Linked DNA regions of Homo sapiens: regions 2, 3 and 4 are each linked to region 1. The links are contacts of gene promoters, found by promoter capture Hi-C in blood cells and fetal thymus (Javierre and others, 2016). All regions are on one chromosome and are shown on one strand. The core of a region is centred on a gene start or on the middle of the fragment in contact, and the rest is flanking DNA. Distances in the headings are between cores, read along the strand shown.

Region 1 (5,930 bases), core at 482-2,981:
ATGTTTGTGTACCAAACTCATAGACCAACAAGAAGACTTTTCATCCCACAATATCTTTGTCCAGCAAACTCAGGGGCCAAGATGGAGGCTTCTGATCCCATTCTCTGTCTACCAAACTCATCCCTTCCAATGCTCAGGTAGGATATGTCTCACCCCAGCCCATCTTTTAAGGATGGTGAGATGGGCTGGTCTCTTCTATTTGGCTGATCAAATCTCTTAGCCTGGGCCAAAAAATGCCCTGCTCAAACCCAACAATGCTCAGCACCAGATTTTTTTGTACGTTGCTGAAATGGCTCTTCCTAGTTTTTGGTCTATCTAGACACCGTTCTTAGGGAGGCAGGAACTCAGCGCCCCTTCTCTTTAGGTCTGGCCCAAGCAAGACATGAGGGCCACCTCATGCACACTCAGTGTCTGGAATGGCAGTGCTATAGATGCACAGACGTCCTGTGCCCAACCCCCTGGGGCCAGGCCACCTTAGCAGGCCCCAGCTTCTGGGTGTGTGACCTTGTCCAGCCCCACACTCCTTTCCCCACACCTCTTTTTGAAACTTACCGCTCCCCTCCCCACCGTTCTTGGTGCAAACATTACAATGGTGGAGACTCACAAACAGCCCAACCCAGTTTCAAAACACATCATACAAACGGAAAAGTTGTTTCAGATTACAAACTTTTAAAGAAGAAAAAAACGGGAGGGGAGAAAAGAAAAGAGTGGGGAACAAGAGAATCGGCCAGGCAACGTCTGCCCTGGTAGGAGGCCCTTGTGCTGAGTTGGTCACAATCCAAGCCCAGACACTCATCCTGCCTGGCTCCACGGGTGACTCCCATTCAACAGTCTGGCTCCCCTACATGAGTACCAGCCCCTGACAACAGGCCTTTCCCAACTGACCCCCTGCCCTCCAGAGCCCCCTGAGACCCGGGCCCTCCCTCGGAACTTGAGGGCGCAGGGGACCAGGACGGCCGTCTCAACGGTCCCAGTTCTTTTTCCCCACTATGGAACACAAGACCCTCTGACCTCCTCCTTCGAGCGAAACTGCACACAGAGCAGGGAAGCCCTGCCGCGCTGGGTTCGGAGGAAAGAGGAGGCCGTGGACGGGGAAGAGGTCGGGTTTCGCTCCCTCAGCGCCGCCGCCTGGGCGACTCTTCCACCCCCGGCTCGGGTTCGAAGCGGCGCGGCCCAGAGAAGAGGAAGAAAGACGAAAAGGAACTTTGCCCGTGGTTTCAGTCAGTAGGCGGGTCAGGCTTCGCAGGGGGGTGGCCGGAGAAACTTGCGACCCTGGCGACCTGGGTCCGCGGGAGCAAGGGCCGGGGCGGCTCTGGGGACTGAGCTCCAGCGCGGGGGCTGCGGCAGCAACTTTCCCGGAGGAAGCCTGCCGCGAACTTTAGCGACGCGGTGCCCCGCCCGCTGCGCGATGCTCCCTGGGCTCCGGCCGGGTCCAGACGCCCGGCGCGTCCGCTCCCGGACCCCTGCTTTCCCGGGACGCCCTGTAGAACCTCGGCCTCGCGCCCCGCGCTCACTTACCATTTGCGCCACTTTCAGCAGGGCCGCGTGGGTGCGGGGGTAGCTGAGGTCCAGCAGCCCCTCCAAGGGGCTCGCGCTGGGCTGGGCCGCGCCGGCCCCGGGTCCGAGCGCGCTGCCGCTGCTGCACGTGGTGCGGACGAGCCCGGCTCCGTGCGACATTGCGCGGCCCCAGCTCGCTGGCCGCCTCCCCGGGCAGCTGCCCAGGGGCCAGATACAGAGGGCGGGCCGGGGGCGGGCGGGGGCGGGCGCTGGCGAGGGCGGGGCGCCCGGGTCCCTGCCCCGCTGCTGGAGACGCGGAGCCGCCTCTGGCGGGATCCCTCCGGTGACTGGCCGGCCGGCGCCTTCCAGAAAGGTAGCGGCAGTCCCGGCCCTCGTAGATGCGCGGAAGTTAGACTGGAGCGAGAGGAAACCGGATGCCTTGGGTCGTGGCCTCTCCGAGGTGGGCAAGGCCCGGACCACAGCTGGTACTGAGCCTCCTGGGATTTTGTGTGGGTGCGGCTGCGGATGTGTGCTGAGAGCACTTTACTGAAGTTTAACTTACATAAAGTGTGATGCCCAGACCTTACGTGTTCAGCTCCACTAATTTTTATATATGTGTACACCTGTGTAACCGTCGCCCAGATCAACAAATAGAACGTGCCCATCACCCCAGAAAGTTCCGTGGTGGGCCTTCCTGACCTACCTTCCTTCCCTGGCCCCATCCTTATCCAGCCTCAGGCAACCACTACAGTGTATTCTGCTTTCTGTCACTGTAGGTTCATTTTGCCTGTTCTTGGACTTCATAAACTTGAAGTAATACAGAATATTCTCCTTCAACATAACAAATTAGAAGATCCATCCTGTTGGGAATATAAGTAGTTCATATCAGTTCCTTCCTTTTTATTGCTGAGTAGTACTCCACTGTGCAAAGATACCGTATTTTTTAAACGTTTACCCAGTTGATGGACACCAAGCTTGCTTCCTTCCTACCTGCTTGCCTGCCTCCTTCCCTCCTTCCGGCCTTTCCCCCCTCCCTCATCTCTTTTCTGGCTATAGTCACTATTATGGTACACGTTTTTTTGGTGGATACAAACTCTCATTTCTCTGGGACAAATATCTGCAAGTGAACGCACTGGTTACAAGGGGAGCATATGTTTGCTTCTGTTAGAAGCTGTCAGCCTGGGGAACATGGCCAGACCTCATTTCTACAAAAAACAAAAAATAAAAATAAATTAGCTGGGCCGGGCGCGGTGGCTCACGCCTGTAATTCCAGCACTTTGGGAGGCCGAGGCGGGCGGATCACGAGGTCAGGAGATCGAGACCATTCTGGCTAACACGGTGAAACCCCGTCTCTACTAAAAATACAAAAAATTAGCTGGGCGTGGTGGCGGGCGCCTGCAGTCACAGCTACTCGGGATGCTGAGAATGGCGTGAACCCGGGAGGCGGAGCTTGCAGTGAGCAGAGCTTGCGCCACTGCATTCGAGCCTGGGCGACAGAGCGAGACTCTGTCTCAAAATAAAAATAAAAATAAAAATAAATAAATAAATAAATTAGCTGGGTGCAGTGGCACATGCCTGTTCAGGAGGCTGAGTCTGGAGGAGCCTTGGAGCCCAGGAGGTTGAGGCTGCAGTGAGCCATGACAGTGGCATTGCACTCCAGCCTGGGCCACAGAGCAAGACCTTGTCTCAATTAAAAAAAAAAAAAAAGACAAGAAAAAGAAAAAGCTGTCAAACAGCTATCCAAGTGACATTCTATTCTGTATCCCTTTTGGGTTGTTTTAAAAATGAAGAGGCCAGGCGTGGTGGCTCACACCTATAATCCCAGCACTTTGGGAAGTCAAGGCATGAAGATCCCTGGAGGCCAGGAGTCCGAGATTGCAGTGAGCTATGATCTTGCCACCGCACTCTTGTCTGGGTGACAGAGTGAGACACTGTCTCTTAAAAAAAGAAAAAGAAAAAGAAAAGGAAAAAAACATAAAAATGAAGACAGGCCCAAACGGGACTACCAAAACGAGGTATGTTATCATGTTCCTTTTGAGCAGTGTCCCTGTGGCCATACTTACATTTATTCATTTGGAGATAACATCAAAAAATCTGGCTGGGCACGGTGGCTCATGTCTGTAATCCCAAAATCAAGCTCACAAGCCCAAGTTTGACACCAGCAAGGGCAACATGGAGAAACCCCATCTCTACAAAAAAATACAAAAATTAACTGGGCATGGTGGCACATGCCTGTAGTCCCAGCTACTCAGGAGGCTGAGGTGGGAGGATTGCTTGAGCCCGGGAGGTTGAAGCTGCAGTGAGTCATGATTACAACACTGTACTCCAGGCTGGGTGACAGAGCAAGACCCTGCCTCAAGAACAAAACAAAGCAAAGTGAAACATAAAACTATCTTTGTGAGTTTATTCCCTGCCAGTGCTGTCTTGTCATCAGAAGAGTTTTCGATGTGGCAAAGTCCTAATAATTCTTGTTGGTGGATGATACCCATGCAATATCTGTTTTGGCAAGTCTCTTAGGTGATTCTGATGCACACTCAAATTTGAGAACCACTGTCATTGCCAGAGTCCACTGCAGTTGAAACATTTGGGGATTTATTACACTATTTATTTCACCTTTATGTACATTTGACAATTTTCATGACCAAGAAAAATTGCCTTCCACGTGTGTCTTCTCTGTAGACAACAGTCACAGCTGCCTGGTACCTCCATTTGTTTCTCTGTAATTCAGGAATAATTGCATCTAGGGGCTGCTGTGACAATGTGATAGATATGCAGGTGTGCTGTGACATTTCTGGCTCTATACCCACAGGCATGAAGTTAGTACTGTGTATCATTTTTTTATGTAGATGTACATTTCACTTCTGTACTTGTCTAAGGCTTCAGGACCCACAGTGGAGATAACAGGGCATCTTTGTTGAGATGAGGGTTTCAGGGAAGCAGAAAAACCAAGTGCTGGATCATTTCTCCTTTGAGGGGCCTTTGTCCAATTCAGCAGTCTTCTAACAGTGATTTTCAGTGTATAGCCCCCCAACCAGCAGTACCTGCGAACTTGTGAGAAATGCAGATTCTAGGGGCCCACTCTGACCTGCTGAATCAGAAACTCTAGGGGTAGGGCTCAGCAGTGTGTGTCTTAACAAGTCTTCCCAACCCCACCCTCACTCCCCACCCCCCTTCACCATCATTCTGTGATTCTGATGCATACTCAAGTTTGAGAACAACTATCTCTTCCTGAGTCTGCTCAGAAACATTGCTGGGCTTTTCTGCCTGGTGTTGACTAATGCACCACCCACCTCTAATCAGAAGTAATCACTGTGCTGGGCACTCTGTGTTAATCACTTTATTATGATCACTTAAGAGCTTGAGCAAGATGCTTGCCAGTGCAAGGGCCATTGCTGGCCTGACTTACAAGAAGAGGCTTCAGAGGCTTGCCAAGTGCACTGAGATGTCTACACTAGTGTGTTGTCTGCTAGATGTGAATAGCTGCCCCTTGGGAAAGCAAGGTCTTAGGCAAAGGGCTTCATAGCCCACTTTAAAGATGTCACACTCTAAGAGGGAACCAACCAGGTAGGTGACCTCTGAATACCTGGTGAGAAATCAAGATGTCCAAGTTCTCCTTTTCTCTACACCGAGGGATTGCAGGTGGCTTATTGACAGTTTAAAGCTTCAATTCGAGTGGTACTCTGACTATAACTCTTCTTCACCAGTGTGTTTATGATGTTATATCTGATCAGATATAATGAAAAAAGTAATAAAATTAGAGTTGACTCTGTATTAGTCACAGTGCTTTTGATGAGACAAACTAAAATCAAGCAAAAAGAAGAGTTCATTCAAGCTGGGAGCAGTGGTGCATGCCTGTAGTCCCAGCTACTCAGGAGACTGGGGTAGGAAGATTTCTTGAGCCCTGAAGTTCCAGGCCAGCCTGGGCAACATAGCAAGACCCTGTCTTTAAAAACAAAACAAAACAAAAAACAAAATAGGCTTGGCACGGTGGCTCATGCCTATAATCCCAATATTTTGGAAGGCCGAGGCAGGAGGATCATTTGAGGCCAGGATTTTGTGACCAGCCTGGGCAGCATAGTGAGACCCCCATCTCTACAAAAAATGAAAAAATTGGCCAGATGTGTAGTCCAAGCAACTTAAGAAGCTGAGCGGGGGGAAGATCACTTGAGCCCAAGAGTTCAATGTTACAGTGAGCCATAATCGTGCCACTACACTCCAGCCTGGGCAACAGAGTGAGACCTTGTCTCAAAAACAAACAAACAAACTAATAAAAAGCAAAACAAAATAATTCATTGGCTTGAGTAACTGTGATATGCAGAGGTATACACCCACTTCAGGCATGGCTGGATCCAGGTGCTCCTCAGGCACAGTCAGGACCTCCATCTCCTGGCTTCACTCTGCTCTGTGTTGGCTTTTCAGGCAGGCCCTCTCAT
Region 2 (5,880 bases), core at 2,826-5,325, 290 kb after region 1:
TAGCCTCCTCTCTCTGATCTATGTAGAGAAAATGAGCTTCACCAAAGGACAGGACAAGGGCATGTTATACAACACGTCTACTTTCCTGCCCAGGACCTTCCTGGCTGAAGCTCCCTGGCAAGCCAGCTAGATTCAATATTCTGATAACTGTATTGCAACTGATGACAATTGACTTGGGAGAGGCACTCCATGTGAGAGTTCTCAAATGTGACAAACACCTTTATTTACACAAACAGGCTAAGCTGCCCTAAAGTTCCAAGTATAAACATTGCTTAAGCAACTTGACATTCCTGAGGTAAGAACCAGATCTGGAAGGGTAGGTCTATCTCTTGGTGATCTGTATTAAAATTGGCAAAAGGCTAAAGTTCCTTCAGAAAAAAAAATCTCATTCTCAGGGGATATGATTAAGCAAGTCTAGTTTCAGTGGTAATTCTGACACAAGTGGTCTTGGGACCACAATTTAAGAAACACGATTTAGGCCGGGCGCAGTGGCTTACGCCTGTAATCCCAGCACTTTGGGAGGCCGAGGCAGGCAGATCACGACGTCAGGAGATTGAGACCATCCTAGCTAACACAGTGAAACCTCGTCTCTACTAAAAAACACAAAAAATTAGCTGGGCGTGGTGGCGGGTGCCTGTAGTCCCAGCTACCTGGGAGGCTGAGGCAGGAGAATGGCGTGAACCCGCGAGGCGAAGCTTGCGGTGAGCTGAGATTGCGCCACTGCACTCTAGCCTGGGCGACAGAGCGAGACTCCGTCTCAAGAAAAACAAAAACAAACAAACAAAAAAAGAAACACGATTTAAAGTGTAACAGAGCAGTTACTCCATTCCACTTGGCAATTCCTTCGGTCTTATCTTCCATGTCCTCACTGATCTCAGACCTGAAGGTAAGTTGTTTAAGGACCGGGACTGTGTCCAGCTGTGTCTGCATCCCTGGTCAGACCACAGTCTCTTCACCGGGCAACACTCAAATGTCTACTGACTAGAGCTGAACACTCCTCTGGGGCTTCTCCATGTTGTTTTCAGTTTCTGAGTTCCTGAATCCCTCTGGGGAGGTTGTGATCCTCTCTCTAGGACTGGAGTAACTCTGTACCCAAGGCAGTGGCACAGAAGCCAAGAATTGTTCCCGTCTAATCCCATAATTAATGAAGCCAGGCAGCCAGCCCAAACCATCAGCACATTTCTCAATTGCTCTGCTTCAGTATCACTGGCCAAGTTCTACTCCATTTCCCTGGGCTGGAGTGGGCCAAGGAAACAGTCAAGTACACCAGAATGAAGAAGCCACGGGCAGGCAGCCAAATCCCAGCAGAGGGGGCAGGAGGCTCACTTCACTACTCTTGCTCCAGGCCCAGTTCCAGCATGGCAGAGCTGTGCTACTTGTCCTGCATCTTGCAAATTAGGAAAAGGGGCTGTCATCTGTGGAATTGTACAGACTAAAAAACTAATGTTAAAAAAACATGTGCTAAATGGGTGCCTTTCAAGTGGCATGGCCAACAGGGGAGCTGACACTGCACTCAAGTGAGCTTGACATTAAAACTGGCAAAGCCGGCCGGGTACGGTGGTTCATGCCTGTAATCCCAGCACTTTGGGAGGAAGAGGCAGGCGGATCATGAGGTCAGGAGATTGAGACCATCCTGGCTAACATGGTGAAACCCCGTCTCTACTAAGAATACAAAAAATTAGCCAGGCATGGTGGCGGATGCCTGTAGTCCCAGCTACTCAGGAGGCTGAGGCAGGAGAATGGCATGAACCCAGGAAGCGGAGCTTGCAGTGAGCAGAGATCGCGCCACTGCACTCCAGCCTGGGCGACAGAGGGAGACTCCGTCTAAAAAAATAGTAATAAAAAAAAACAACTGGCAAAGCCAAGCTGAAAGTCCAAATTAAGCTTTGCAGCAGCAAGCTACCAACTCTATTAAATATTGTGTAGAACATTCTGTTGTTGGTTGAAAAATGCAGCTCACAGAAAAGTATGCAATACCCTAGTATTTGCAGCGTGGAGGGCGAAAGGACTATATGTAAGCATTCACTTGCATGGAATTCCTCCAGAAAGGACAGAAGTAATTCATAACACTGGTTTTCCTCCAGGAGGTACTCAGGGGGGATAAATGTGGATGGGTGATGTTTCACTGTTTTTGGTACTCTTTGGTTTTTGTTTTTTATTTTTTGTTTTGTTTTGTTCTTTTGAGACAGGGTTTCACTCCCTTCACACAGACTAGAGTACGATGGTGCAATCTGATTTTGGCTCACTGCAACCTCTGCCTCCCAGGCTCAGGCGATTCTGCTGCCTTAGCATCCCAAGTAGCCGGGACTACAGGCGCCTGCCACCACACCTGGCTAATTTTTTGTATTTTCAGTAGAGACGGGGTTTCACCGTGGTCTCAATCTCCTGACCTCGTGATCCCCCTGCCTCAGCCTCCCAAAGTGCTGGGATTACAAGCGTGAGCCACCATGCCCGACTAATATTTTATTTTTTGTAGAGGCGGGGTTTTGCCGTGTTGCCCAGGCTAGTCTCAAACTCCTGGGCCCACCTCAGCCTCCCAAAGTGCTGGGATTACAGGCATAAGCTACTGCGCCCAGCCCTGGTTGTTAAACAATGTGAATGTATTATTCAATCAAATATCATTATGGTTTTAAAAATTAGTTTTTAGGCAGGGAGCGGTGGCTCACACCTGTAATCCCAGCTACTCAAGTGGATGAGGCACAAGAATCGCTTGAATCCAGGAGGTGGAGGTTGCAGTGAGCCAAGATCGCACCACTGCAACAGAGTCTTAGTATTGACTTAGCATATGCCAGGCACTAGGGTAGATGCCATTCTCAAAAGTTGGGAGACAGATAATCAAATAACTCCTTATAATGCAGTGATGCAGGCCAGCAATAGGGACACAGAGAGAGGCCACTGGCCTTGCTGGGATGGAAAAGTGAAGAACCAGGTAAGGTTTCCTTCAATAAGTACTTTCTGGGCCAAGTCTTGAAAGAGTAAAACTAAGACCAACTACCTAGGACCAGCTGCTGCAGCACTTCTGATGCCTGTCACGCCACAGAAAAACCGGTAAACAGAAGCACTGAAAGGACATCATCACTCTTAACTATTGTACACCAGTCCCTCCAATGTGGCAGAGTGTACAGCAATGAAAAAAGGCTTGGAAACACCAGATGCTACACTTTGCTTCCTTCCCCCTTCACACCCCCACCTCTACATTCACCCAAACACACCAGAGAATCCCACAGTGTACGTTTGATTAAGGGTACTAGAAGAACTGACATTTCTAATGTGCTCTATAAAATGTTAAAGTCAAATAAGGCCCCAAAGAGACGCAAAGCTTCGCAAACATCTCGGCAAGGGAGAATTCTCAACGCCTCAGGGAGAGCGGCCTGTTGAAACTTGGATTTTCTTCCTGATACGACGCGCCTAAGATAGTGGACCTATCAGAAGCGGGGGCGAGACGGGCACCTTGAAGGGCAGAGCATGCCCCGCCCGTGACCTGGGCAGCAAGAGCCCTTTAGCCCTCTCCGCCTCGGTTTCCTCAACACCGAAACTGCAGTAAGAATGCTCGAGCCTCCACCAAGTCCTTGACCCAGGAGATCCGCCGTGGAGAACGGAATACGCCCTTAGGATATTGTGCAAAACACCCAGGCGTGGCAAGCAGGTGGCTTCTGTGCGCTCAGTAACGGGGGCGCAGACAGGTGCCCGCGTGCTCGGGGTGCCCTCTCTCCGCGCTGTCCCCCGCACGCACGCGAGCCCAGCGCCTCCCGAGCGAGTGCCCCGGTGCGGCCTCCTCGGGCGCACGGTGCCCAGCCCAGCAACGAGGTCGCCCACCCCGCCTCCCTGCGCGCAGTGCCCGGTGCCCACGCCGCAGCATGGGGCGCGCAGCCCTCACCGCCCGGGAGAGGCGCTTCCTGGAAGCGGAGCCCCGGCCTCCAGCCCGCCGCCGCTCACCAGTTCCCCGAGCCCACGATGCACACTTTCAGGGGCGCCGCTGCCATGGCCGGGCCGAATGTAGCCGCCTGGACCGTGCTTCCCTGGCCGGCTGCCCACCTCCGCCTGTTCAGCCTTGCCCGCAGCGGCTGGCGGCGGCCCCGCCCCTTTCGCCTCTCCGCCAATGGTCGCGGCCACCCCCGCCCGGCGCCGGGGGCCGCAGCTGACAGCGGGGCAGGACCCGCTTCGCCACTCCCAAGAACCACTGCGCACGCCTGGCCCCGGCCGGCCTCCAGGCCCGGCTCCGGCACCGCCCCGCCCTGCCCGAGGCACGTCGGGACATGTAGTCCTCACCCCCCGTCGCTGCGCGGCCCTAGGCAGCAGCTCCCGCCGCGCCACATGCAGGCCCAGGCCACTGAGCAGCGACTCGCGCCCCTGGTTCCCGGTGGAGGCTGCACTCCATCCTCATGGGTGGAGCAGACCCAACCAGCTTGCCGTGGTGCCCCCTACACGCTCCTTTTTCCCTACTCGGGAAGGGCTGCCACATTGCCATTTGGAGCCGAGAGAGGCTCCTAGGTTGACTCTCAAGCCGACCAGACTTGGGGCAGAGCTCGAAATGCCCACCCGACCTTGTCATCCTCTGTTTCATTTGCACAAACAAGACACAGCCTGGCACCTCTGAACTTCTTAGAGAACTTGGATCTTCAGAGGACTTTGGAATTTGGCTGAACAGTACCTGCATTTCAAGGATGACACCTTTTCTAGTTAGAGTCAAGATAGAAACTTGACCTGGTGCAGTGGCTCACACCTGTAATCCCAGCACTTTTGGAGGCCGAGTCAGGAAGATCACTTGAGCCCAGGAGTTCGAGACCAGCCTGAGCAACATAATTAGGACCCCCCACCCCTCTGTACAAAAATTTAAAAAATTAGCCAAGCATGGTGGCACGCACCTATAGTCCTAGCTACTCAGGAGGCTGAGGCGGGAGAATTGCATGTGCCCAGGAGGTCGAGGCTTCAGTGAGCCAGGATAGGGCCACTGCACTCCAGACTGAAGGACAGTGAGACCCTGTCTCAACAAAAAATAAATACATAAAAATAAAGGGAAAAAGGTAACAACAGCTTGCATTCAGTGGGTGTCACCCTCACACGCTTACTTGGCAGGAATTGCTTTACCATTGTCTTTGCCCAGGGCCTGACTTATCCCTTGCTTGTGGTTTGTTTGCATTTGTGAGTAACACAATGCTCTCCTCCTTGACAAATAGAATCTTAGTTTGTTCATTCTGAGCATCAGTCTCTGCCAGGCACTGTGCTAGACGCTGTCAGAGTAGGACAAAGTCCTTTAAACCAGTGGTTCTCAAACTCTGCTGCATATTAGTCACTGGGGCTTTTAAAAATCCCCATGCCCAGACACCATTGCAGGCCAGTTACATCAGAATGTCCCATGGTGGGATCCAGGCATCAGGATATTTACTTATTGACATATATTTTTTGAGACAGTCTCCTTCTGTTGCCCAGGCTGGAGCAGAATTTTTTAAAGTTCAAGAGGTAGTTGCAAAAGCAAGCCAAGATTGAGAACCAGAAGACTAAAATATCAGTGGATTCTGGCTAAAGAAACAAATACTCTAGTACCTACAAAAAACTAAGCCTAGGCCGGGTGCCGTGGCTCACGCCTATAACCCCAGCACTTCAGGAGGTCGAGGCAGGCAGTTCACCTGAGGTCAGGAGATGGAGACTAGTCTGCCCAACTTGGCAAAACCCCGTCTCTACTGAAAATACAAAAAATTAGCCAGGCATGGTGGCAGATGCCTGTAATCCCAGCTACTCAGGAGGCTGAGACAGGAGAATCTCTTGAACCTGGGAGGCGGAGGTTGCAGTGAGCCGAGATCTTGCCTGGGCGACAAGAGCGACACTCCGTTTCAAAAAAATGATAGTAATACTAAGCCTATTAGTTTGATGCTCAGAGAA
Region 3 (5,410 bases), core at 1,745-4,244, 430 kb before region 1:
GCGTTCTAAATCCAGGAATGAATAAAAAGGCCAAACAACTTCCGAAATGTTTTTAATGAAAAGCTAAAGGGAGCAAGCAGAATCTTGCTCAAAACTGAGCAAATTTTATGTTAAGGATTATTAGTTACTTCAACCTGACATTGCACATGCTAAAAAGTGAATTTGAAGAGCTTCCGAGTACCTCCCAGGGTGAGTGGAGAGCTTCACTTCTCAATTCACACTCCCCAATGCAGTTTGAAGGGTTTTCTAATTTTAAAAGTGAATAAATCTTTTACAAGTCTGCCAACACTGAGCATCTACTGTTTCAGCCCAAATAAAATATAGGTGTATCTTTAACTGGAAATATAAACTGACATTTAAACTAAAAGCACCTCTCAGAAGGGGAAACTCCTGGATTCAACCCCATTCTGCTCACCCTGCATTTGATCCCAAACTGCAAGTGAATTGGCTCCATTTTTCTGTTCCTGGGATTTGGATCGGTATTTACCTCAATCACTCATTTTTCTAAAAGTGATGAAAGAACATGAACCCACAGTATATTAAAACTAGGAGTCCATTCAAAGTTTAAAAACGGAAAAAAAAGATAACTGCCCCCTAGCTTCTTACCTAGAAGAAACCTTTTAAAAGGAGATGCCTACAACAAGTAGATTAGAATTTCAACTTTTTTCCAACAGGAGAAGCCAGCTAAAGGCCATCAGGCAATAGCTCCGCCCTCCTCCCCAAATAACAGGTTAGGAGTGGAAAAGGCAGCGGCGCTGGGCTCACCTTTGCGGTGCTCGGTACCCACTCTCCAGCTCACACAGGCCACGACCCCCACTATGGCTTTTAAAGCCTCTGCAGTCTCCAGCTTACGCTCTAAGTCAAGACTTTCACCCACACCCTCTCTTACCGGTCTACAGGTAGATCGCCTAAGTTACCGACCCCCTCGGCAAGAGCCCGCTTCTCAAGACTTTTGGCCTGCCTTCATTGGGTTCGGGGGAGAAGACGACACTCGCATAATACCAAAGTGGAAAGGAGAAAGGGGTCACACTGTGTGAAAAGCAAATGTTTACTCGACAGCCCAAAGGGCGAAATCGAGCCCGAGGGTTGCAATGTAGCCCTAAAAGCCTTTGCACTCCGGCGTTCCAGCAGCGTACGGCTGCCTTGGTCTTTTCCAAGGAAGTCGAGACCCTGGTTGAGCCGGGTGGATACCTCCTAACCAGGGAAACCGGTTCCTGTAGGGCTTGGAGTCGGGGCAGGCGGGCGCGGCCCAAGAGACTCAGGCTGGTGAAGGTAACGTCGTCCCTTTATTCCGCTTCTATCTCGGGGTGCAGCCGTGGGCCCACGAACGGCGATTTCACGCTAGGAGAATTCAGGGGCCAGAACACGCATTTTAAACAATATAGGAAGCAGCCGCAGAGAGAGAAGGGCTTAAGACTGGGGGCCCTTGGCCCTCAAAGATCCACAGACGCTCCCACTCTTACCCAACATAAGGAGGCAAGGACTGCCATGCTGTCCCAACAACAAAAAAACCAGTCTTCCCCTCACAAGTGCGCACGTGGAAACCAGGTCTACGGAGGCACACAAACTCCACGCACTCACCCACACAACCATCTCTTCCGGGCTCACGCCCCATTTTAAAGGCAACAATCTATGAGTTTTCCAAACAAAAATCTGAAAATAAAGGAGCGCCTTCTCAGCACGTTGGGAGGCCTCTGGTGTGCCCACAAGAGCAGGAGCAGGCCACGTCTACACAAACACACACACCTATCTCCTCCCAACTCACGCCTAACTCAAGACGATTGCCGCGTTTTGCCACACAGAAATTAAAATCAGAAAAGGGAGGACCCCACGCTATGGGATTTTTCGGAGCCCCTCGCGACACGTACACAGAATCCACTTCCACATACTTCCCAGGTCATGATCTACTTTGGTAGCAAGGACTGCCACGTAGCCAAAGGAAATACAAACCAAATCCGGAGAGGGCCTCCTCCCCTCGCTGTGGGACCGGCCGGGAAACGCTGTTGAGCACACACGCAGTTATCCGATGGACACAAACACACGCCCCCACGCACTCACCTCGTCGTCGTGGTGCTGGCAGAAGCCGAGGCGCTCGGGAAACACTGAGAGGATGGAGAAGGGCGGGCCGGGAAAGGGCGGCCCGAGCCCGAGCTGCTGCGCCGCTGCTGCGGCACCGGGACCCGGCGGGCCGCGCTCGATGTAGTGGTCCTTGGTGAGGCGCACGCGCTGGTGCGCTCGGACGCAGTTGTCGCACAGGTGCTCCTGGCAGTCGAGGCAGCGCGAAGAAGCTGCGTTGCCCTCATCGCACGAGCTGCAGCCGTGAGGACGGCGGAGCAGCAGCGCCGACGGGGAAGCGGCAGGGCCGCCGGGTGCCGAGCGGGAAGGCGCGGGCGGCTGCGGCGCCTGCGGGAGTGGCGGCGCGGAGGCGGACGCGCGCGGGTGCGCGTGGTGAGCGTGGTGCCGGTGGTTGCTGTGGCCGCCCGCTCCCGCCGGAGCGCCGGCGCGCCCGTTCTTGGGCGGCGGCTCGTCGGCAGTGGCCACCACCGCGTCGAGCAGGTTGCTAAGCAGGAAGGCGGACGAAGGCAGCGCGTCCATACCCGCCGCCTCGGCTAGCACTACTTTCTGGTCGCACACGGGGCAGCGCAGCTTGAGCGGCTCTCCCGCCGCGCCGCCGCCCGCCGCCGGCAGCCGGTGCGCCTCGAGGCAGGGGCGGCAGAAGGCGTGCAGGCAGGGCAGGACGTGTAGGCGGCGCGCCGCCGCCCCAGGGCCCCCGCCGCCGCCCCCCGACGACGTGGACGTCTGCGAGGAGGACGACGACGCGGACGAGTTGGAGGAGAGCGGCGCCGGCGAGCCGCACATCTCCTTGCACAGCAAGCAGATCTGGAAATCGGTCTCGGGGAACGAAGCCATTTGCAACCCAGCCCGGAGGAGGGAGGAGACCAGAGAGGAAGAGGAGGAGGAGGAGGAGAGAGCGGACGAGGTGGGTGGGGGAGTCACCGACTCACTCAGAAAAATGCATCGATTAGGCCTGCAATCCGGGAGCCGGCACCAGAGCAGCGCTGCCCGCTTGGCCTCGCCACGTCCGGCCCGAGCGCTGCCACCCCCGACACTGCAGGCATTAAATGCCACTATCCAGCGGCGACACAGATTCCTCCGGATAACTTGGGGGCCGCGTGCCTTCCGAAGAGGGAACGCCGGAACAAGCCCCGACAGGCGAGGGGCGAGCGGGGGCAGGGAGGTCGGAAGACTCCCTGGAGCAGCTGAGGCTTCCCTTCGCGATAGACGAAAGGAGTTCCCAAAAGGAGAGTTCGCTGTGCAGTCCCAGTCCCGGCGAGAGCAGAATTTGGTTCCACGAGTATTTGGTGCGTTGCTTTTCTTTAAACGGATTTAGTCTGTTCTTGGGAGGGGAAGGAGCCCCAAACTAGTAAAGGCGGGAGCGGTGCGTCGCCAAGCCGGTGTCTCCCCGCGCGACGTCGGCTGCCCCGCCGCATGACGCGGCGGCCAGGGGCTCCTGGGTGGCCCGGCGTGCTGCGCTTGGGGCTTGCGCACAGCCAGGCACGGCCTCCCCTGCAGGGCGGTGGGCCCCGCAGCAGCTGCAGCTCGTGGTGGCCCAGCCGCGGCCGCACGCGTGCAGTACGCACGCGCGTCCCACGCGCCTCGAGTCTTCCGCGCGCCTGCCCAGCCGGGCCGCGGCTGCCCGCGCTTAACACGCACGCGCGCCCCACGCGGCCCGGAGCCCTCGTGCCCCCGCCTCGCCTGGCCTGGGCGCCTCACGCACGCTCCTTCCCCTTCGGCTTAGCGCGCGGGGCCGCAGGTCCCCGCGGGCCGCCCTGAATTATTCATCGGCAGGAAGATATTAGATGTACCCGCTCCGCGCGGGCCGTCGTGCAATGCTATCCGAGCTCCGCGCGCGCCCTGCGCCCCTCCTCCTCCTCACGTCCGTCCTCTCTGAAACCTTGGCAGAGAAGGGGGATCACATTTCCTTTGTCATCGGGCCATTTCGCCCTCGCCTTGGTCCCCCCTCCGATCCCGAGCCTCGGGGATGGAGGCTCCTCTCGGGCGCGCTGGAATCAGTGGAACCGGCAACAGCCCCGCGCGGCGAGCTCGGGAGCCGCGTGGCCAACGCCGCCGGCTCGCGCCCGCGTCATCTTCTTTCTGAAAGGAGTCGCCGATCCGGACGCGGGTGGCCTCGGCCGCGCTGCGCCTACCGAGCTTTGCTCCCGCCGTGCCCCGGCCTCCTGGGGCTTTGCACAACTCCCCCAGTTCGGGTTGCGTGCGCGCGCGCGCGCCCCCTCTTTCTCTGCTTTGCCGCCTCTGCCTCCTCCTCCTCCTCCTCTTCTCTTCAGTACGCCGGTTATTGGGACTGATCGGAATTCGGAATCCTTTTAATCTCCAAAGGAGCAAACTCACTTCCGCCCGAGTGCTGGGAGGGGGCTGGGGGAGGGGAGGCAGGGGAGGGGGCTCCAGGCAAACAGGAAACATTAGCCCTCTCAGCACGGCCCGCTTTTGTGTGCTCCCTCCCTCCGCCCTCCAACCTCCTCCCTTCTCCCGGCCGCTGGGGAGATGAACGCCCCCGGGCTTCAGTGTGACGACCTTTGAAACCTTCTGAGCGAGGAGCAGAGAACGACTCTTCCGTTTATTTAAAAAAGAAAAGAAAAGATTTCATTCTGAATCCCTGGCTCAACCGAGACATATCCACTGCCCGGGAGATCTCGGTTTTTACCCACCTTTTCTTTTTTTCTTTTTACGTTTTTTAAAGAACTCTGCATATCTGATCACCAAAACATCACACGGTGGTGTGCAGTTGGATGCATGGAATTAAGCGAGTCTGAATTCTGATCGGCAGAGGGGCCAGAGTTCCCTTTTGAGTTTTAATGGGGCTGGGGGGAAGCAGGGGGCAGCTGTTCTGGGGAGGCGACCTGGTGATGGCCCCGCAGCCATCTGGGTGGTGCCCGAGGCCGCCTGAGCGGTTCTGGGAGAGGAACTTGCATGGCCCTGGAGAGAGACTCACTTGGAAGGGCAAGGAGGGCCACTTACCAGGATATAGGTAGTATCTGGCCTGGAGGCCAACGGGGTAAAAATTGTCCCCTTCTTAACACTATCTCGCTGTTAGTGATATCCTATTTAACCTGGTACAGGCAACAACCTGATGACTCAAAAACATCGTGTTGGGAGAGAGAAGCCAAACACAAAAGAGTTCATACTGTGTGATTCCATTTCCAGGAAATTCTAGAACAGAGAACTAAGCTATGGGGAGAGGAAAAGTACCCTTGGGGATGAGGAGGTATTGACTGGGAAAGGGCATGAAGGAACCTTCTGGGGTGGTGAAATAAAAATAGATTGCCGTGTATGTACATTTGTCAAAACTTATAAATGCCATTTAAGATCTATGCACGATTTCACTGTTTAA
Region 4 (5,745 bases), core at 373-2,872, 410 kb after region 1:
AAGCCTAAGGTCCATGTGGAGGAAGGATACTCTTTCCATAGGAAGCGGCAGTAAATATTTTGAACAAATGAACATTCTTGCATAGTTTATTACAGCCGGTATCATTTGTCCCATTTTGCAGTGAGAAAACTAAGGCTAAAAGAGGTAATTTGATCAAGGTCATAGGTTAGAATTCAGCTCTGAATGGCTTCAAATTTGGTCCAGGCAAGCTCTTTTCAGATTTTTTTTTTTTTAACACTATGTAGGCACCTGGAATTGTAATTTACTCAGGGGCACAACCACTTCTCTTCAACTCCAGAAGCTTCTCCGTGCATCTCTAGAGCTAAACCACCCATGAAATCTTCCTGGAAGGATGTGAAGCTAGAAAGGGGTTGGGCTCGGGGAACTGTCCCTTTGAGAGCTGACTTTTCCATTTAGTAATTTTTTTTAACTCTTGAAGTATTTATCTGCTTGATGGGTTTGTAGATCCTTTGGACGGAGATCACCTATCATCTATCACCTTTTGTTTTGTCTGTGTGTGTGTGAGAGAGAGAGTCTGAGTTCCTCAAAGCTTTTTTCTAGGTAATTTTTGATACTTCAGATTACAATGGATATCTATATTCACAAAAAATATTAGTGGGATAGAAAGAGTATCTTTAGGTAGGAAGAGGGGCGCAGAAGTTACAGCCAACACAGAGAATCCTTCAATGTTTGTAAATATCTGTTAATTTCCCTTGCCTCTGGAGCAGTTTTCCCGGTTTCAGAGCCTCTGCTCCTAGGTGCACGTGCAGTGTGGTAGCAATGGATAGGTTTTGACTTGCCAGGTTTATGCGTGCCATTCAGGGCAGGGGATTAGGGTTAGGCCAGTGAGTGACCTAGGACACTCAATTTAAGGAAGCACTCGCACAAACCTGAGAGTTCGCGCGCCTCACCCCAGCCCAGCCGTGTGTCTGTTAAGCATTTATCATAATCCTGCTGCATGAAAATGCCCGGCGAGCTTACCTGTGAGGATCACCTGCCACTCCCCTCCTCCGCCAGACAACGCGGAGGGCCTCCCTGAGCTGTGACTTTGCTCCGCCGGTGATAATTTCCAGGTTACTGTGTAGGAGCGTCTGGCGCAGCATCGTGTGCGGAAGACCGAGAGAGGGAGTGTGCGTGTGAGCCTGTCAGGCCGGGCGGGTCCATATCCGGGTGGACCGGGTGGGTGGGGCTGCCCCTCCCTCCAGGTCCCGAGGTGGATAAGGGGTGGGGAGTGACGTGCAGAGATTCCCTTTCGCCCCTTCGGATCCAAGAGAGGGTGGCAGAAGGAATGCGTGGGTGACTTGGCGTGGATTTAGGGCGTGCCCACCCTGCAGATCGGCCTCCTAGAGTGTCCCGAGGGCCTGAGAGGCCGCAGGGACACGAAGGAAGAGAAGGAGGAACCCGAAGAGGGCTCGCCTAGCCGGCCACCCGCTCCGAACTTGCCCGGGAAACTAGTGCGGAGGGAGGGGCCGGGCCCTGGCCGCGGCGGGAGGAGGGGCGGCCGCAGCTGCATCCAGCCCCGTTGGCTTCCTTCCCAGCTCTCCTTCGCCTCCTCCTCCTCTTCCTCCTGTATGAGTCAGGCATTTCCCGGGGATTTGGAGCAGGCACGCGCGGCCCGGGCGTCCGGAGCTGTAGCAGCAGCAGCAGCCGCCGTGCCGGGGCCGCCACCGCGGCGGGCACCCGCGTCCCGGGCGCCCACGGACCATGGAGAGGGCAGTCCAGGGCACAGACGGCGGCGGGGGTAGCAACAGCAGCAGCCGCAGCAGCAGCCGTGCTACCTCGGCGGGCTCCTCGCCCTCCTGCTCTCTGGCGGGCCGGGGGGTCTCCAGCCGGTCGGCGGCGGCCGGGCTCGGCGGCGGGGGAAGCCGCAGCAGCCCGGGCTCTGTGGCCGCTAGCCCGTCCGGGGGAGGCGGCCGCAGGAGGGAGCCGGCGCTCGAGGGCGTGCTCAGCAAATACACCAACCTCCTCCAGGGCTGGCAGAACAGGTAACGCGCCAGCCGCCCGCGCCACCGCGCGCCGCTGTGTGTGTGTGTGTGTGTGTGCGTGCGTGTGTGTATGTGTGTCTGTGTATGTGTGTGCGCGCGCGATTGTGCCTTCAGCGAACCCAGTGATGCCTCCCAACGGTGCCCTTCCTGCGTCCCTGCTCCCCTCCAGGTGGGGTTCTCAGGATGGGGCGCGCCGTGGCTCCACCCCGGGACCGCACCGCAGTGGCGGGGAGGGAGGCGAGAGCCCTGGTTTTCTTCTATGCTGGCACCTGCAGAGACTGGAGTGGTGGCAGGAGGATCGTGCTGGTCCCCGTGCTCTGCTTGTCCGCGGTTTCCCGCACGCCTGAAGAATGACTGGGAAAGGGAGGCAGAAGGGGCGTGCTTTGTGCCGGGGTGAAAAAGCGTTAGCACGTCCGCTCCGATTACAGTAATTCTCTAAGTAACAGTTCATTTTAAAGTTTGGTGTTTCAGAACACCACCACCATCAACAAAAAACCTGCCACTTGTCATCCTGGGCGACTGTGCATACTCCTGCCCCAGTTTGTGCCTTGCAGCCTCCGATGTTTGTAATGGAAGTTTTGTTTAAAAACAGAAAGAGGCCGGGCGCGGTGGCTCACCTCTGTAATCCCAGTACTTTGGGAGGCCGAGGCGGGCAGATCACGAAGTCAGGAGTTCGAGACCAGCCTCGCCAACATGGTGAAAACCCGTCTCTACTAAAAACAAAAAAAATTAGCCGGGCGTGGCGGCGCGCCTGTAATTCCAGCTACTCCGGAGGCTGAGGCAGGAGAATCGCTTGAACCCCGGAGGCAGAGGTTGCAGTGAGCCGAGATCGCGCCATTGCAATCTAGCCGGGGCGACAGTGCGAGACTCCGACTCAAAAAAAATAAATAAATAAAATAAAATAAAATAAAATAATAAAAAGAAAGAAAAAATACCCTCCCCCTTTTAATATTAGTAGCAATTTACATTATTATCATTATTTCCTCTTCAGGTCCCATTTGAAGTTTCCTGCTCACTTCCCCCTTGCAGTTGAGAAGCCTAGTTATGGACACGTGGAAGGATGGGGCTGTCGAGGAAAGGGGCTCAGGAGGCACTTGGAATGGTGGTAGTGTGTGTGATCTGCCATCGTGAGGAAGACAAGAACAGATGTGGCACTACTGTTTACTTTTTGTTTTTGTTTTTTTTTTCAATTTGTTTTCCAAAAACAAGCCAGAGGGAAATACAAGTGTCAGTGCGAGGAGAACAATGCTTTTTGGAGAGGTGGTTGGTGGGATATTTTGTCCTGCCTATTTAACAGTCTCCAGATCTTAATAGACTTGGGGCTCTTAAGGATGTTTGTGAGATTTGAATTATACCCTGGAAAGTTGCTTATCTCTGCTGCATGGACTATATTACTTGGTTATCTCTTCCTGTAGATTGTTTGGAAATGTTCAGATTTGCTTCCATCTGAAACATATCAGCCAGTTATCTGCACGAAACTCAACTTGGAGGAAGAGGTCTTTTGAAGTATGGAAACTGAGTTGTTTCTATATTGATATTCTACATATAGGACTTTCTGAGTCACCTGGGCTTCCTGGGAGATGTGTTACTATGTTAGTGGAAGTTGCACTTAACTTTTGAATCCTTTTATTTCTCAAAATAGTCCTAGTGTCTGCTGTTGCCTCTCCCTTCCCCTTTCAATTCGTGAAAGCTGAAAAAGAATAGGTAGAATGCGTAGGTAGAGGGAGATATGAGATGACTAAATCTGATTTCAGTTCTTGGTAATTATGTCTCGTTAATGGCAACTCAAGGTGCCTTGTCAGTAACAGCATTTTGTTGGTGTGTTGAGCAATCACTTAATGCTTTTTCTTCAAGTAGATTATGAGGCCAGCAAAGCTTTTACCCTGGATTACAGTTATTTTATTATTTACTTGCTGGGGAACAATATTTTACCTTGCAGTCTGTATTAAAGGATTTGTTATTTGGAGTGGATTTAGGAGGCATTGGAGTAACATTCTTTTGCATTATTTTAAACCCATTGTGGTGTTTAGATTGGAGGCAAGGTTGAGAAGAAGCACATTTAATGCCAATAATAATACCTACGTGATAGCAGGCTACCTAGGTGAAATGTGGTATTAAGTACACTCCTGAGCATGCTTAAGTGATGTCTCATCTTTATTGAGTTTGTTTACTGCAATTTATAGCTGTCTGCCTATGTTTGTTCTTACCACAGTAGACTCACCGTTTTCCAAGTCTACCACTGACTCCATAAGCATCGTCTGTAATTGTTAACATCTCAGTGTCAGGGTTTCTATTTCCCACATTTTGTTCTTTGAACGATGGCTGAGGGTCCATTAGTGGTTTGGAGAAGATTACGATGACTCTGTGCTTGCAAAATTCTCCCTTCTCTAGGGGTCTTATGAAGGGACAGATGGATTAGTGAAAAGGAAGAGAGAAGAGGATAAAAATAGAAACTTTGAAAATGTATTCATTTGTTCAATTATCTATTCACAGACTGTTTTATTGAGCACCTACTATGTGGCAGGAACTGTTCTAGGAGCTGGAGCTACCACCCTTCCCTGGTCCAGGGAAATGCCTTAGTACAAATAGTTAGCCAACTGATTCCTGCTGCCTTTCTTTCTGGGCCTCATAGCATCTTCCTTTGGCAGTTCTTTTCAAAGTGCCCACAGTTAATGACAAATCTATAGCAACCAAGTTCTTGGTTCATCCTCTCAGGCTGCTGTGCAATTGTAGTGCTCTTCACCAGCTCCCAGGACTTAATACCAATCACCCACTAACAGTTTGTACCCTGGTGTCCTCTTGCATGTTCTCAAGTTGCTGTAAAACTTATATTTTAACACTTGGCATCATATTCTGCCTTTATTTGTAGCCTCATCCTCATGCCCTTAGGAAGGCAGTTTGGGCCAGAACACAAAATAAACGACATAAAGAGAGGTCACAGAGAAGAACACTGTATGATGGGAACGTGCTCAACTCAGGAGAGTAAGTTCAGGACATTTGGCTCACACTCACTGGATGAGAATGTGAAATACTTAGAGTATGGGGAAAACATGCATTAAGGGCTTTCTGTCATTCATTATTATAGATATTTAAAGAAAATATTTCAGGCATAATAACATTGTATAGATTTACAGGATGGCACTGAAGAGTAAATACATTGATACAAATGAACAACAATAAAAAATCCAGAAAGTGGCAAGTGCTATGAAGGTTAAAAAAAGGTGATGAGATAAAGCAAGTATTTGCAGGAATAATTTTAAGTGTGAGTCTAGTGTTTTTACTGCTATTCACATTGTCACTTAGAGTACTCTCTTATTACCCATCTTATCACTCATACAGAGTGAACCATGGGGAGAGTAAACCTCGAGAACTTGAGGAGGCAGATGACCTAGCACCTAGTTGGCCAGGATTAGAATTTCAGACTGGGTTCTGGTGGCCCAGAAGGATTTTAGGAAGGGAAGTGACACTTATTAGGTCACTTTGGCTGCTGTGTAGAGATGAGATTTTCAAGGGGCCAAAGCATGAAGCAGGGAGACCAGTTAGGAGCCCATCTGAGTGGTCCAGGAAAGAGATGCTGGCGGCCTGGGCTGGGGGTTGGCAGAGAACTGGAGAGAAGGGATAGATCTGGTGTGGAGAGGATGGAAATCGCTGATGAATTTGATGTGGAGGTGAGAGAGGGGCAAGAATAACTCTTGATTTGTGGGCCTGAGAGGCTGGGAGGTTGAGACGTCCTTTGTGGAGATGAGGATCACAGGAGGGG

The links. The method cuts DNA at HindIII sites, captures the fragments that hold promoters and counts their contacts. A CHiCAGO score of 5 or more calls a contact.
Region 2: the fragment with the promoter of GPD1L here is called in contact with the fragment with the promoter of CMTM7 in region 1 in 17 of 17 cell types (activated CD4 T cells, fetal thymus, naive CD4 T cells and 14 more); the score reaches 33.7 in activated CD4 T cells.
Region 3: a contact is called between the fragment with the promoter of TRIM71 here and the fragment with the promoter of CMTM7 in region 1, in 7 of 17 cell types (neutrophils, M2 macrophages, M0 macrophages and 4 more). The highest score is 8.3, in neutrophils.
Region 4: a contact is called between the fragment with the promoter of OSBPL10 here and the fragment with the promoter of CMTM7 in region 1, in 12 of 17 cell types (total B cells, activated CD4 T cells, fetal thymus and 9 more). The highest score is 17.7, in total B cells.

What each region holds. Positions count from the first base shown.
Region 1 is chr3:32,387,654-32,393,583 of GRCh38, reverse strand. It overlaps CMTM7 (CKLF like MARVEL transmembrane domain containing 7), which reads right to left and starts at 1,731. Exons shown (of 5, transcript NM_138410.4): 1 at 1,519-1,731. The coding sequence starts at 1,677. The HindIII fragment of the contact is 6,143 bases long and covers 1-2,473 here.
Region 2 is chr3:32,104,815-32,110,694 of GRCh38, reverse strand. It overlaps GPD1L (glycerol-3-phosphate dehydrogenase 1 like), which reads right to left and starts at 4,075. Exons shown (of 8, transcript NM_015141.4): 1 at 3,937-4,075. The coding sequence starts at 3,983. RefSeq lists silencers at 3,673-3,812, 3,933-4,342. The HindIII fragment of the contact is 2,757 bases long and covers 3,322-5,880 here.
Region 3 is chr3:32,815,581-32,820,990 of GRCh38, reverse strand. It overlaps TRIM71 (tripartite motif containing 71), which reads right to left and starts at 2,994. Exons shown (of 4, transcript NM_001039111.3): 1 at 2,059-2,994. The coding sequence starts at 2,910. RefSeq lists an enhancer at 1,953-2,534. The HindIII fragment of the contact is 10,738 bases long and covers 1-5,410 here.
Region 4 is chr3:31,977,139-31,982,883 of GRCh38, reverse strand. It overlaps OSBPL10 (oxysterol binding protein like 10), which reads left to right and starts at 1,622. Exons shown (of 12, transcript NM_017784.5): 1 at 1,622-1,985. The coding sequence starts at 1,705. It overlaps ZNF860 (zinc finger protein 860), which reads right to left and starts at 1,134. Exons shown (of 2, transcript NM_001137674.3): 1 at 982-1,134. RefSeq lists a silencer at 1,863-1,932 and an enhancer at 3,487-3,536. The HindIII fragment of the contact is 3,310 bases long and covers 553-3,862 here.